Linked DNA regions of Homo sapiens: all the other regions are linked to region 2. The links are contacts of gene promoters, found by promoter capture Hi-C in blood cells and fetal thymus (Javierre and others, 2016). All regions are on one chromosome and are shown on one strand. Each heading gives the region's core, a stretch centred on a gene start or on the middle of the fragment in contact. The rest is flanking DNA. Distances are from core to core; before and after follow the strand shown.

Region 1 (3,701 bases), core at 799-3,298, 300 kb after region 2:
TGTGTGTGCATGCATTTGCATGTTTTGGTGGCTTCTGGGGTCACAAGCAATGACTTGAGATGAGGCAGGCCAAGTGTTCCCTTCCTGAGTCATGGTCACTGTGTGGTCACAGTCACCAAACACATATTACTCTTGGCTGTTCCCAGGCCCTGTTTTAGGTGTTTGTAAAGCCCTACACTGCTGAGAGCTGGCTTTGACTGTGCTTTCCTGCCGGTGACATGATGGCGCATGTGTTCTGTCCCCCTGTCCATCACCCCCTCTAGTTCTGGCCCCTGTGTGTCTCGTGTCCTTAATGGGCCTTCCCTCTAACTGCTCCCCTCTCTAACCGTCTCCACCTGTCTTGGTCGGCTGGGGCTTCCCTAACAATACCACAGACTGAGGCTTAAACAAAATGTATTTTTTCCCTGTTCTGGAGGCCAGAAGTGTGAGATCTAGGTGCCAGCAGGGGGTGGTTTCTGGTGAGGGCTCTCTCCTTGGCTTTCAGATGGCCACCTCCTCACAGTGTCCTCCTGTGGCTTTTTCTCTGTCCATGTGCACTGCTGGTGTCTCTTTTTTTTTTTTTTTTTTTTTTTGAAAAGACTGCCCTGTCATCCAGGTTGCAGTGCAGTGGTGAGATCACAGCTCACTGCAGCCTCAATCTCCTGAGCTTAATCGAGCCTCCCACCTCAGCCTCCCAAGGATCCACAGGCGCAAAGTGTGGTTTTTTTGTGTGTGTTTGTTTTGTTGTTGTTGTTGTTGTTGTTGTTGTTTTTCTGTAGAGATGGGATCCCAGTATCTTGCCCAGGCTGATGTCTAACTCCTGGGCTCAAGTGATCCTCCTGCCTCAGCCTCCCAAAGTGCTGGGATTAGAGGTGTGAGCCACTGTGCCCGGCCTCTTCCTTTTCTTATAAGGACCCCAGTTCTGCTCAGATCAGTCCCCACCTGATGACGTCATATAACCTTCATTCCCTCCCTGAAGGCCTCATCTCCAAATACAGTCACATGGGGGTTAGGGCTTCAACATAAGAATTGGGGGCAGGGGGACGTAATTCAGGCCAAAGCTTGTCATGAGATGCCCAGGTGGCTCCTCATGGCTGAGGATAAATCCCAGGTTCTACCTGGCACTGGAGAGCCCTGAGCTGCCTCCCGTCACCCCTCACCCTGATAACCTCTGTCCCTCAGCACCCAGGACAGTCGCCCCACCAGCACTCCTCATTTCTCCCACGCTCCTCTCAGCGAGCCCCTCCTCTTTGAAATCCCAGGCACCCTTCCCCGGGGCTTTTCCAGCCTCTGGGGGAGCCTCCTGGGTCTTCAGAGCAGTTGGCATGCCCCTCCTTCTCCCAGAGGGTGCCTGGGTTTCGCTGCCTCTGCCCCCGCGTCTCTGTTATCTGTGTAGGAGAGGCACTCCATTCCTGCCATCAGACAGCAGAGTGGCGGGACAGGGTGGGGACCTGCGGCGAGGTCAAGGGTATCTTGCCTGATGTCACCCTGACCCTGTATCCCTCACAGGTCCTCAGTCTGCTCACAGCTGTGACGTTCACAGGGTGTAACACTGAAACCAGTGGGAGTTGCCCTGCAGGCCAGCAGGGATGCTGAGACCTGCCCTCAGCCAGCGGACGTCCAGCCATCTGCATGTTGGTCGCACATCCATTTTCCCTGCGCCCTGGCTCAGTGGATTCCAAACTGTAGCGTGCCTGAGCATTGCTGTTCAGGGTTGTCTACAAGAAGAGCGTGTTCTTTTTCATTCACTGTCTTCATGGTGCTGACTCAAGCCTGACTCCAAGTCAGAGGCCAGCCTACAACATCCTGGGGATCCTTCCAGAGTATGGGCTGAACCAGGCAGGAAGCAGCCTTTGGCTCTGTCCACCTGCACAAGGCTACGCCCTGGCATTGAGCTTGTCCTAGACCATCAGTTCTTAACTGGTCAAGGTCTGGGAACATTTGTCATTGTCACGATTTGGGGGAGCTCCTGGCATGGAGTGGGTGGAGGCTGGGGACGCTGCTCAGCACGCTGCAGGGCCCAGAACGGCCCCACCCCAGAGAACAATGTTGTCCCAAATGTCAGAAGGGCCTGAGTTGGAAAGCTCTGCCCTCTGCTGCATGGGCTGTCTGATCTCTGCCATGGAGCCAGTTCACCAACCAGCCGCCTCCACTGTCCTCTTAGGTGGGGTGTCCACCAGGTGGAGACAAAGCTGTGTGCGGAGGCACAGCAGGAGCAGATAGAGAAAGCCCCACAGGTTCCTGCTCCTTCCTTGGGGTCCTGGGCTGAAGGACTCTGCTCAGCCTTCCACCTGAGGTTCACTTGCCCCCACAGCCCTCTGCTGGTGCTGCTCAGCACGCCTGGGCCTCCAGGTTGGAGGGGCAAGGTCTCAGGACCCAGGGAAGCCAGAGAAGAATGGAGCTTCCTCCCCAGAAAGCTACTCACGATTTACTATCTAGTACTGAACGCTTTGTGTTTTTGTTTGTTTGGTTTTTGTTTTGTTTTGTTTTGTTTTGTTTTGAGACGGAGTCTCGCTTTGTTGTCCAGGCTGGAGTGCAGTGGTGTGATCTCGGCTCACTGCAAGCTCCGCCTCCGGGGTTCATGCCATTCTCCTGCCTCAGCCTCCTGAGTAGCTGGGACTACAGGTGCCCGCCACCACACCTGGCTAATTTTTTTTTGTATTTTTAGTGGAGACGGGGTTTCACCGTGTTAGCCAGGATGGTCTCGATCTCCTGACCTCGTGATCCGCCCACCTCAGCCTCCCAAAGTGCTGGGATTACAGGCGTGAGCCACCGCGCCCAGCCTAACACTTTGTGTTTTTAAGAGATGGGGTCTTGCTCTGTTGCCCAGGCTGGAGTGCAGTGGTGTGATCTCAACCTACTAGGTTCAAGAAATCCTCCTGCCTCAGCCTCCTGAGGAGCTGGGACTGCAGGTGCACCACCATGCCTGGCTAATTTTTCTGTTTTGTAGAGATGGGATCTTGCTATGTTGCCCAGGCTGGTCTTAAACTCTTGGGCTCAAGAGATCCTCCCATCTTGGCCTCCCAGAGTGCTGGGATTACAGGTGTGAGACACCACACCTGGCCATGAAAGCTTTTTTCCGAGATGGAGTTTCGCTCTTATTGCCCAGCCTGGAGTGCAATGGCACAGTCTTGGGTCACTGCAACCTCCACCTCCCCCATTCAAGCGATCCTCCTGCCTCAGCCTCCCAAGTAGCTGGGATTACGGGCGCCCGCCACCATGCCTGGCTAATTTTTGCATTTTTAGCAGAGACGGGGTTTCACCATGTTGGCCAGGCTGGTCTCGAACTCCTGACATCAGGTGATCCACCTGCCTCGGCCTCCCAAAGTACTGGGATTACAGGCGTGAGCCACTGTGCCCAGCCATGAAAGCTTTTTATACAAAAGAGGCAGCAGGTCTCAGTCCAAAGGGCTCTAGAGCTGCAACCGTACTTGGATTTCCCTGCCCCTGCACTATATCTTGGGCCGATCATACCCTCTTGTTGAGCTCTGTAGATTGTACAAAACCAAAGAGAGGGCCTGTGGGTGTCCTCCCAGTCTCCATCCTGTCCTGTCTTCTGGCCAGCTTGGTTTGGACTCCGCCCCTCTCCTGTATGTCTCAGGAGAGGGTGGTCCCGGCTCCAGGAGTGGAGCCTGATGATTCTAAATCAGCTCTCCCGGCCTCTTTGCCGTTGACTCTTAGTGCCTTGTGGGTGGTGTAGGGCTCAGGCAGGACAAGAAGCC
Region 2 (3,518 bases), core at 958-3,457:
ATGCGGAGGTTGCAGTGAGCCAAGATCGCGCCATTGCGCTCCAGCCTGGGTGACAAGAGTGAAACTCTATCTCAAAAAAAAAAAAAGAGAGTAAAAGAAAGAGGGAGAAAGGAAGGAAAAAAGGAAGGAAGGAAGGAAGGAAAGAGAAAAAGAGAGAGAAAAGAAAGAAAAAAAAGAAAGTGGGCCGGGCGCGGTGGCACACGCCTGTAATCTCAGCACTTTGGGAGGCTGAGGTGGGTGGATCACAAGGTCAGGAGTTCAAGACCAGCCTGGCCAGGATAGTGAAACCCATCTCTACTAAAAATACAAAAATTAGCCAGGTGCAGTGGCGGGCGCCTGTAATCCCAGCTACTTGGGAGGCTGAGGCAAGAGAATCGCTTGAACCCGGGAGGCAGAGGTTGCAGTGAGCCGAGATGGCACCACTGCACTCCAGCCTGGGCAACAGAGCGAGACTCCTTCAAAAAAAAAAAAAAGAAGAAGAAAGAGAGAAAGGAAGGAGAGGAAGGAGAAGAGAACCGAACCTAGCCAGGGAGATGCCCCAAGTTTGAGTTTGAACCTAACTCCAAATTGCTGTGTGACTTTGGATGAGTTTCCACCCTGCTCTGGGCCTCCATTCCCCACCTGTAAGAAGGAGCTGATGCTACCCGCTAAATGATGTGCTTGGCTAAAATCAAGCACCGTGACCCATTAGTGCATCGTAGAGCTGAGCAGAGCTCTGGCTGGGCTCTGGCGGGTCTAGCACCTTCGTGGGGCCTCAGTTGGCCCGCCTGGAGCTCTGTGGTCCCGGGGCAACTGCAGTGGACTCCTCACCTGGTCCTTGACGTGACCCCAGCCCTCGCCCAGCTCCACGTGTCTCAGGATGCCGTCCTGCCGGTCAAACAGGAGATCCAGGAGCTCAAAGCTGTCGATGGGGTCCATGGAGCAGGCAGCAGAAGCCATCTGGGGCGCGAGGAACAGATGTGAGGGTCACATACAGCCCCTGTCCTCCCCACCTCCCATGTGCACATAACCCTGGCTCTTTCCGGCTAGAGTTCAGTTGCCGCTCTGCCTCCGGGTTGGGCCAGCTGCTGCCCCTCGCTGAGACTCCCTTTCCAAATCTGGACTTTGAGGCTGATAGAGAGAATTCCACAGTGTGAGAGCCAATTTCTCTTAAAGTGCTGGAGAGGCTGGATGTGGTGGCTCATGCCTGTAATCTCAGCACTTTGGGAGGCCGGGGCAGGAGGATCACTTGAGCCCAGGAGTTCAAGACCAGCCTGCGCAACATAGAGACCCCTATCCCTACTGCAAATAATTTAAAAAAATTAGCTGGCTGCGGTGGCACACACTTGTCGTCCCAGCTACTGGGGAGGCTGAGGTAGGAGGATCCCTTGAACCCAGGAGGTTGAGGCTGCAGTGAGCTATGGCCACCCCACTGCACTCCACCCTGGGTCACAGAGCAAGACCTTGTTTCAAAAAACAAAAAAGTATGGCAGGCACGGTGGCTCACATCTGTAATCCCAGCACTCTGGGAAGCCGAGGCGGGCAGCTCACCTGAAGTCAGGAGTTTGAGACCAGCCTAGCCAACATGGTGAAACCCTGTCTCTAGGAAAAGTACAAAAATTAGCCGGGCGTGGTGGTGCACACCTGTAATCCCAACTACTTGGGAGGCTGAGGCAGGAAGATCTCTTGAACCCAGGAGGTGGAAGTTGCAGTGAGCTGAGATCGTGCCATTGCACTCTAGCCTGGGTGACAGAGGGAGACTCCATCTCAAAAAATAAAAATAAAAATAAAATAAAATAAAATAAAAAGTGCTGGAGAGAGGCCCTAGCTAGAGATGCCGCTTGCCTCTCAGGCCTTCACAGCCTCCCCAAGTGCCCGCTCCTAGGAGGCAGGGGGACCTGGAAGAAAGACAAGGGCAGCCCCGGGGCAAAGGCACACAGTTTTGCTCATTGCATCCTTTCTCTGGGCCTCAGTCTTCCCATCTGTACAATAGGGGTGGAGATGGGGTCCTTCCAGCTCTGGCAGCTTGGGTAGGCTTTCCCAGCCTAGACTCCCGCTCTCCCTGGGGACCTAGTAGGGCTCACCTTTCCAGCAGCTAAATCCGTATTCATGGGTCCATCCAGTTCTGTCTGCAGATGCCTCGGGGGGTCTCTGCTCCAAGCTGGAGGCCCACCCACCGCCAGCGTTACCTGGGGCCGGGCAAGCTCACAGCCCTCTGTGGCTCTGTCACCACTCCCAAAAGATGCTGAAGCGGTCACAGGCAGCTCCCAGCCCACCTCCAGGTGCTGATTGGTGGACAGGGTGGAGAGACAGGGTTGAGGGCCAGTGACACTGGGGCAGGCAGGAGCAGGGGAGGGAAGACCGTTATCTGGGTGTTTTGTGGTTTTCCAGCCCTCAGTGAGCAAAGGTCGAAGTCTGGGGTACCTCCACTCTGCCGTGACCTCTGCCCTACTTATGAGGACTTTTTCTTTTTTTCTTTCTTTTTTGAGACGGAGTCTCGCTCTGTGGCCCAAGCTGGAGTGCAGTGGTGCCATCTCATTTCGGCTCACTGCAACCTCTGCCTCTTGGGTTCAAGTGATTCTCCTGCCTCAGCCTCCCGAGTAGCTGGGACTACAGGTCCCCATCACCATGCCCGGCTAACTTTTGTATTTTTAGTAGAGACGAGGTTTCATCATGTTTTCCAGGCTGGTCTCGAACTCCTGACCTCGTGATCGGCCCCTCAGTCTCCCAAAGTGCGGGGATTACAGGCGTGAGCCACCGCACCCGGCCAGTTACAGGACTTTTTCTCTTCAGAATTCCCAGATGGGTTCTGGGATAGCCCAGGGCCCTTACATGGGTCCTGTCCACTCCCTGGACAGAAACAAACCAAGAGGACCAGACCAGATCTTCACTGAAGCCAGTTTTCCTGCCAGCAGCTAGCGGCTCCCATCCTTCACCCCACCTGCCAACCTCCGGCCCCCAGCCCCCTCCGAAACCAGCTTGGACTCCGCCTCTGAGTCCCCATGGGTGATTCTGTGCAATCAATTCTCTCTAGAATCTTCTATCGTTCATTGAGTCAACAAATATTTATGGAGCCAAACTGGTTCCTGCTTAGGGCCTTTGCACCTACTCACCTGCTCGCCCCTCTGCCTGGAACTCTCCTCTTGTACCCTCCCTCTTCCCCTCTGGCTCTAGGTCACTGTATTGACATTTTAGTGAATGTTCGATATTTGTGAATCAGCCCGGGTGGCTGAGAGGTGTCTCTGACCTCCCCTCCACCCCCTACCAAGAGAGAGGAGCCCTGTTTTGTTTTTTTGTTTTTTTTTTTGGTGTTGGTGGAGGACAGGGTCTCACTCTATTGCCCAGGCTGGAGTGCAGTGGCAGGATCATAGCTCACTGCAGCCTCCAACTCCTGGGTTCAAGTGATCCTCCCGTCTCAGCCTCCCAAGTAGCTAGGACTGCAGGCGTGCACCACCACACCTGGCTAATTTTGTTTTTTTTTTTTTATAGAGATGGGGTCTTACTGTGTTGGCCAGTATGGTCTCAAACTCCTGGGCTCA
Region 3 (3,710 bases), core at 452-2,951, 320 kb before region 2:
ACCTGGGACTATCCAGGTCGTCGGGACCCCAGCTTCCACCAAAGGGGCATCCAAGGTCCCCTCGGCCAGCCCCCTTCCCTCAGAAGCGCTCCCACTCCCTGGGCCCGGGCCTGTCTCCATTTCAAGCATTGGGGTTGGACCACCCCACCCTCAAGTCCCTCCAAAACCAGCTTCTACATCCTCCTCCCCACAGGGGACCAATCCCCAGGGTCCCCCAACAGTCCCGATGCCAACTTCATTCTAAGGTCCAGTTCCCCGAGTCCCAGTGACCCCGTGAACAGAGCCCCGAGCCCCATTCCCCCACCCCCAGCCCCTCACTCAGAGGTCCCAGCTTCCCTTAGCCTTGACCCTCAACCTTCCCCCCTGACTGCCTCCTCCAACCCTGGACCCCTAGCACATGGCCCTCGGCCCCCCAGCCCCTCAAAACTGGGCTTCTCCAGGACCCACAAGGGAGTGCTTCAGCCCCCATATCTGACCCCAAATCTCAAGTTCCGCAGTTCTGCTCAAACTTGAACCTTGAGCCCTCAGGCCTGGGATCCCCAGGCCCTCAGGTGAGGGTCCCTCAGGTCCCAGACCCTCCCAGACACCCTGCGCACGGCTCCCTGAGGCACCCTGGACACCCCCAGACACACGAGGCGTGGCTCCCTCTGGGCCAGGGCAACCCCAGATCCCCATGGTGCAGCTCCCTCAGGCACAGAAGCCCCAGACCCCCAGAGCGCAGCTTCCTCAGGCCCAGGACCCCCAGACCATTGGCGCCGCAGCTCCTTCAGGCCCTGGACACCCCCCAGATCCCCACGGCGCAGCTCCCTCAGGTCCAGGACCGCCATTCCCCCAGAGTGAGAATTTATCAGGCCCCAGACCCCCAGGGCACCGCTTCCTCGGGCCCGGGACCCCCAGACCGTCGGCGCGCGGCTCTTTCAGGCCCCAAACACCCCCAAACCCCCAAGGTGCGACTCCCTCGGGCCCAGGATACCCCCAGACTCCCAGGGAGCGACTCTCTGAGCCCCAAAACCCTCATACACCAAGGGCGAGAGTCTCTCAGGCCGCAGACACCCTCAGAACCCCTAGGCGCGGCCCCCTGAGGCCCAGGGCCCCCAGACCCCGGGGCGCGGCTCCTGCAGGGCTTGGACACCCCCAGAACCCCAGGACGCAGCTCCCTGAGGCCGAGGACCCCCAGACCCCGGGAGGGGCTCCTGCAGGCCCAGACGGCGGGTCCTGCAGGATCCGAACACCACCAGACCACAAGAACGCGGCTCCCTGCAGCCCAGGACCCCCAGGCCCCGAGGGCGGGGCTCCCTGAGGCCCAGGATCCCTAGACCCCGGGGCGCGGCTCCGGCAGGCCCCGGACAACCCCAGACCCCTAGGGCGCAGCTCCCTGCGGCCCAGGACCCCCAGACCCCCAGGGCGGGGCCGCTGCGGGTCTCGGACACCCCCAGACCCCATGAACCCCAGACCCCCGGGGCGCAGCTCCTTCAGGCCCAGGACAACCCCGGCCCTCCAGTGCCCGCCTCCGGCCCGGGGCCCCCGCTGCCCCCCCCCCCCCCCCCACCGGCCCCATCTCCCGCGCGGCCTCACCCTGGCAGGCCAGTGAGGGTAGCCCTTCATCTTAGCGAACACCAAGTCCCCGGGCTTGAAGGCGTGTGGCATGCTGACGGCGAGAGGCCCAGGCCGCGGAAAGCGGCTGCAGCGGCGGTAGCGGCTGCGGCGGCGGCGGCGGCGGCAGCGGGAGGCGAAGCCGGGGGCGGGAGCGGGACGCCGAGGGGGCGGGGGAGGCTGTCTGGGCAGCCTGCCGACGCGCGCTTATTGGGCGTTGCGCCAACGGAAGTTCAGCCCTCCGGCCGTCACGGGCCGGCAAAGCCGTCGATCAGGACCACGTGCAGGGGACAGAGAAGGGAGGCGACCAATAAGAACAGAGGTTGGAGCACAGCAGTTAACGGGATTGGATAACGGACAGACCCAAGGGGCGTAACCCAGAGACTCTAATGGGAGGTTATGGGAGGTGAAAGGGAAAGGTGGGAGGAGACGAACAGACGCTCTAAGGGAGTGAAGGGGTGGAGCTTAAGGGAAAGAGGCAGGACATAGACCTCCACAAGAGAAGGGGATATAAGGAGGGCAGAACATTGGATACCGCAGAAAAGAAGGCCAATCACTTAACGCAATGGGCGGGTCATTGACAGCCTCTCCCGCTCAGGAGGAGAGGCTTAAAGTAGATATGCAAGCCATTGGATACCACAAGAGAAGCGCCTCAAGGTAGGGAGCAGGCATTGGCCATCACAAGAGGCGGGGCTTCAGCGGGAACGTCGGCCATTGGCTATCGAAAGAAGAGCGATACAACATAAAACAGGGACGGGCGATTGCCAGCTCGAGGAGGCGGGACTTAGAGGAAGGGGCAGGCTCCGGGGGAGCTCTTAGTATAAACAGCCACAAAATGCACAAAATAGTTATTTCTTCACTTAGTTAAAAACTTAACTGAGTACCTACTATATGCCAGGGCCCCAAAACGCCACACAGACCTATTCATTCATTCAAGAAAAATGTACTGAATACCGTGGGGCCGAGTCACTTGATTGTCCTGGGCTTCGCTCTCTGCACTTGGAAGATGGGGCCCATAATGATTGTGAGGACCCTGCTCTAGACTGAGCCCGGCAACAGGAAATACAGGAAGTATTAGAAGCTATAACTCGGCCGGACGCGATGGCTCACGGCTGTAACCCCGGCACTTTGAGAGGACGAAGCGGGCGGATCACGAGGTCAGGAGTTTGAGACCAAGCCTGGCCAACATGGTGAAACCCCGTCTCTACTAAAAATACAAAAATTAGCTGGGCGTGGTGGCACGCACCTATACCAGCTACTCAGGAAGCTGAGGCAGGAGAATCACTCGAACCCAGGAGCGGGGGGTTGCAGTAAGCCGAGATCGCGCCACTGCACTCCAGACTGGGTGACAGAGCAGAAAAAAAAAAGCTATAACTCTACCTTCCGGCAGGGCGTGGTGGCTCACGCCTGTAATCCCAGCACTTTGGGAGGCCGAGGTGGGTGGATCACGAGGTCAGGAGATCGAGACCATCCTGGCTAACATAGTGAAACCCCGTCTCGACTAAAAATACAAAAAAAATAGCTAGGCGTGGTGGCAGGCGCCTGTAGTCCCAGCTACTAGGGAGGCTGAGGCAGGAGAATGGCCTGACCCCGGGAGGCGGAGCTTGCAGTGAGCCGAGATCGTGCCACTGCACTCCAGCCTGGGCGACAGCGCGAGACTCTGTCTCAAAAAAAAAACAAAAACAAAAAACAAAACTCTACCTTCCAGGAATCAAGTATAACAGGGCCAAGAAATGTTAAGTTTTAAAATTTGTTGATGTTGCTGTGTTTTGTTTTGTTTTTTGTAATTAGGATCCATGGTAAGAACTAAAATGAACCAGGGTGCTTGAGGAAAAAAAGCTGAATAATGGAGACGACTTCTTCTCTCCTGGGGGATCACAGAGGGTTACTGGATGAAGTGAGTTTAACCAGACACTGGGAGAATGAATAGAAGTTGGACATGATAGTGAGGCGAGCCCTGGGAGGGCATGAGGAGCAGAGGGAAGAGCAAAAACAAGCGTCTGATCCTCACTTAAGGTCAGGAGTACGAGACCAGCCTGGCCAACATGGTGAAATCCCATCTCTAGAAAAAATACAAAAATTAGCCGGGCGTGGTGGTGGGCGCCTATACTCCTAGC

The links. Contacts are between HindIII fragments. The CHiCAGO score rates a contact against its expected background, and 5 or more counts as called.
Region 1: a contact is called between a fragment that was not itself captured here and the fragment with the promoter of CREB3L3 in region 2, in 3 of 17 cell types (total CD8 T cells, endothelial precursors and naive CD8 T cells). The highest score is 6.4, in total CD8 T cells.
Region 3: the fragment with the promoter of HDGFL2 here is called in contact with the fragment with the promoter of CREB3L3 in region 2 in 4 of 17 cell types (erythroblasts, M0 macrophages, non-activated CD4 T cells and 1 more); the score reaches 6.4 in erythroblasts.

The regions. Positions count from the first base shown.
Region 1 is chr19:3,847,772-3,851,472 of GRCh38, reverse strand. All of the region lies in intron 1 of ZFR2 (zinc finger RNA binding protein 2), which reads left to right. Among named protein-coding and RNA genes, the nearest start is that of ZFR2, 19 kb to the left of the region's middle. RefSeq lists an enhancer at 1,447-1,948. The HindIII fragment of the contact is 2,011 bases long and covers 1,043-3,053 here.
Region 2 is chr19:4,152,320-4,155,837 of GRCh38, reverse strand. It overlaps CREB3L3 (cAMP responsive element binding protein 3 like 3), which reads right to left and starts at 2,207. Exons shown (of 10, transcript NM_032607.3): 1 at 2,064-2,207; 2 at 811-939. The coding sequence starts at 2,090. The HindIII fragment of the contact is 35,033 bases long and covers 1-3,518 here.
Region 3 is chr19:4,470,288-4,473,997 of GRCh38, reverse strand. HDGFL2 (HDGF like 2) reads right to left here and starts at 1,701. Exons shown (of 16, transcript NM_001001520.3): 1 at 1,576-1,701. The coding sequence starts at 1,647. RefSeq lists silencers at 1,506-1,565, 1,596-1,775 and enhancers at 2,276-2,625, 2,886-3,055. The HindIII fragment of the contact is 12,260 bases long and covers 1-3,710 here.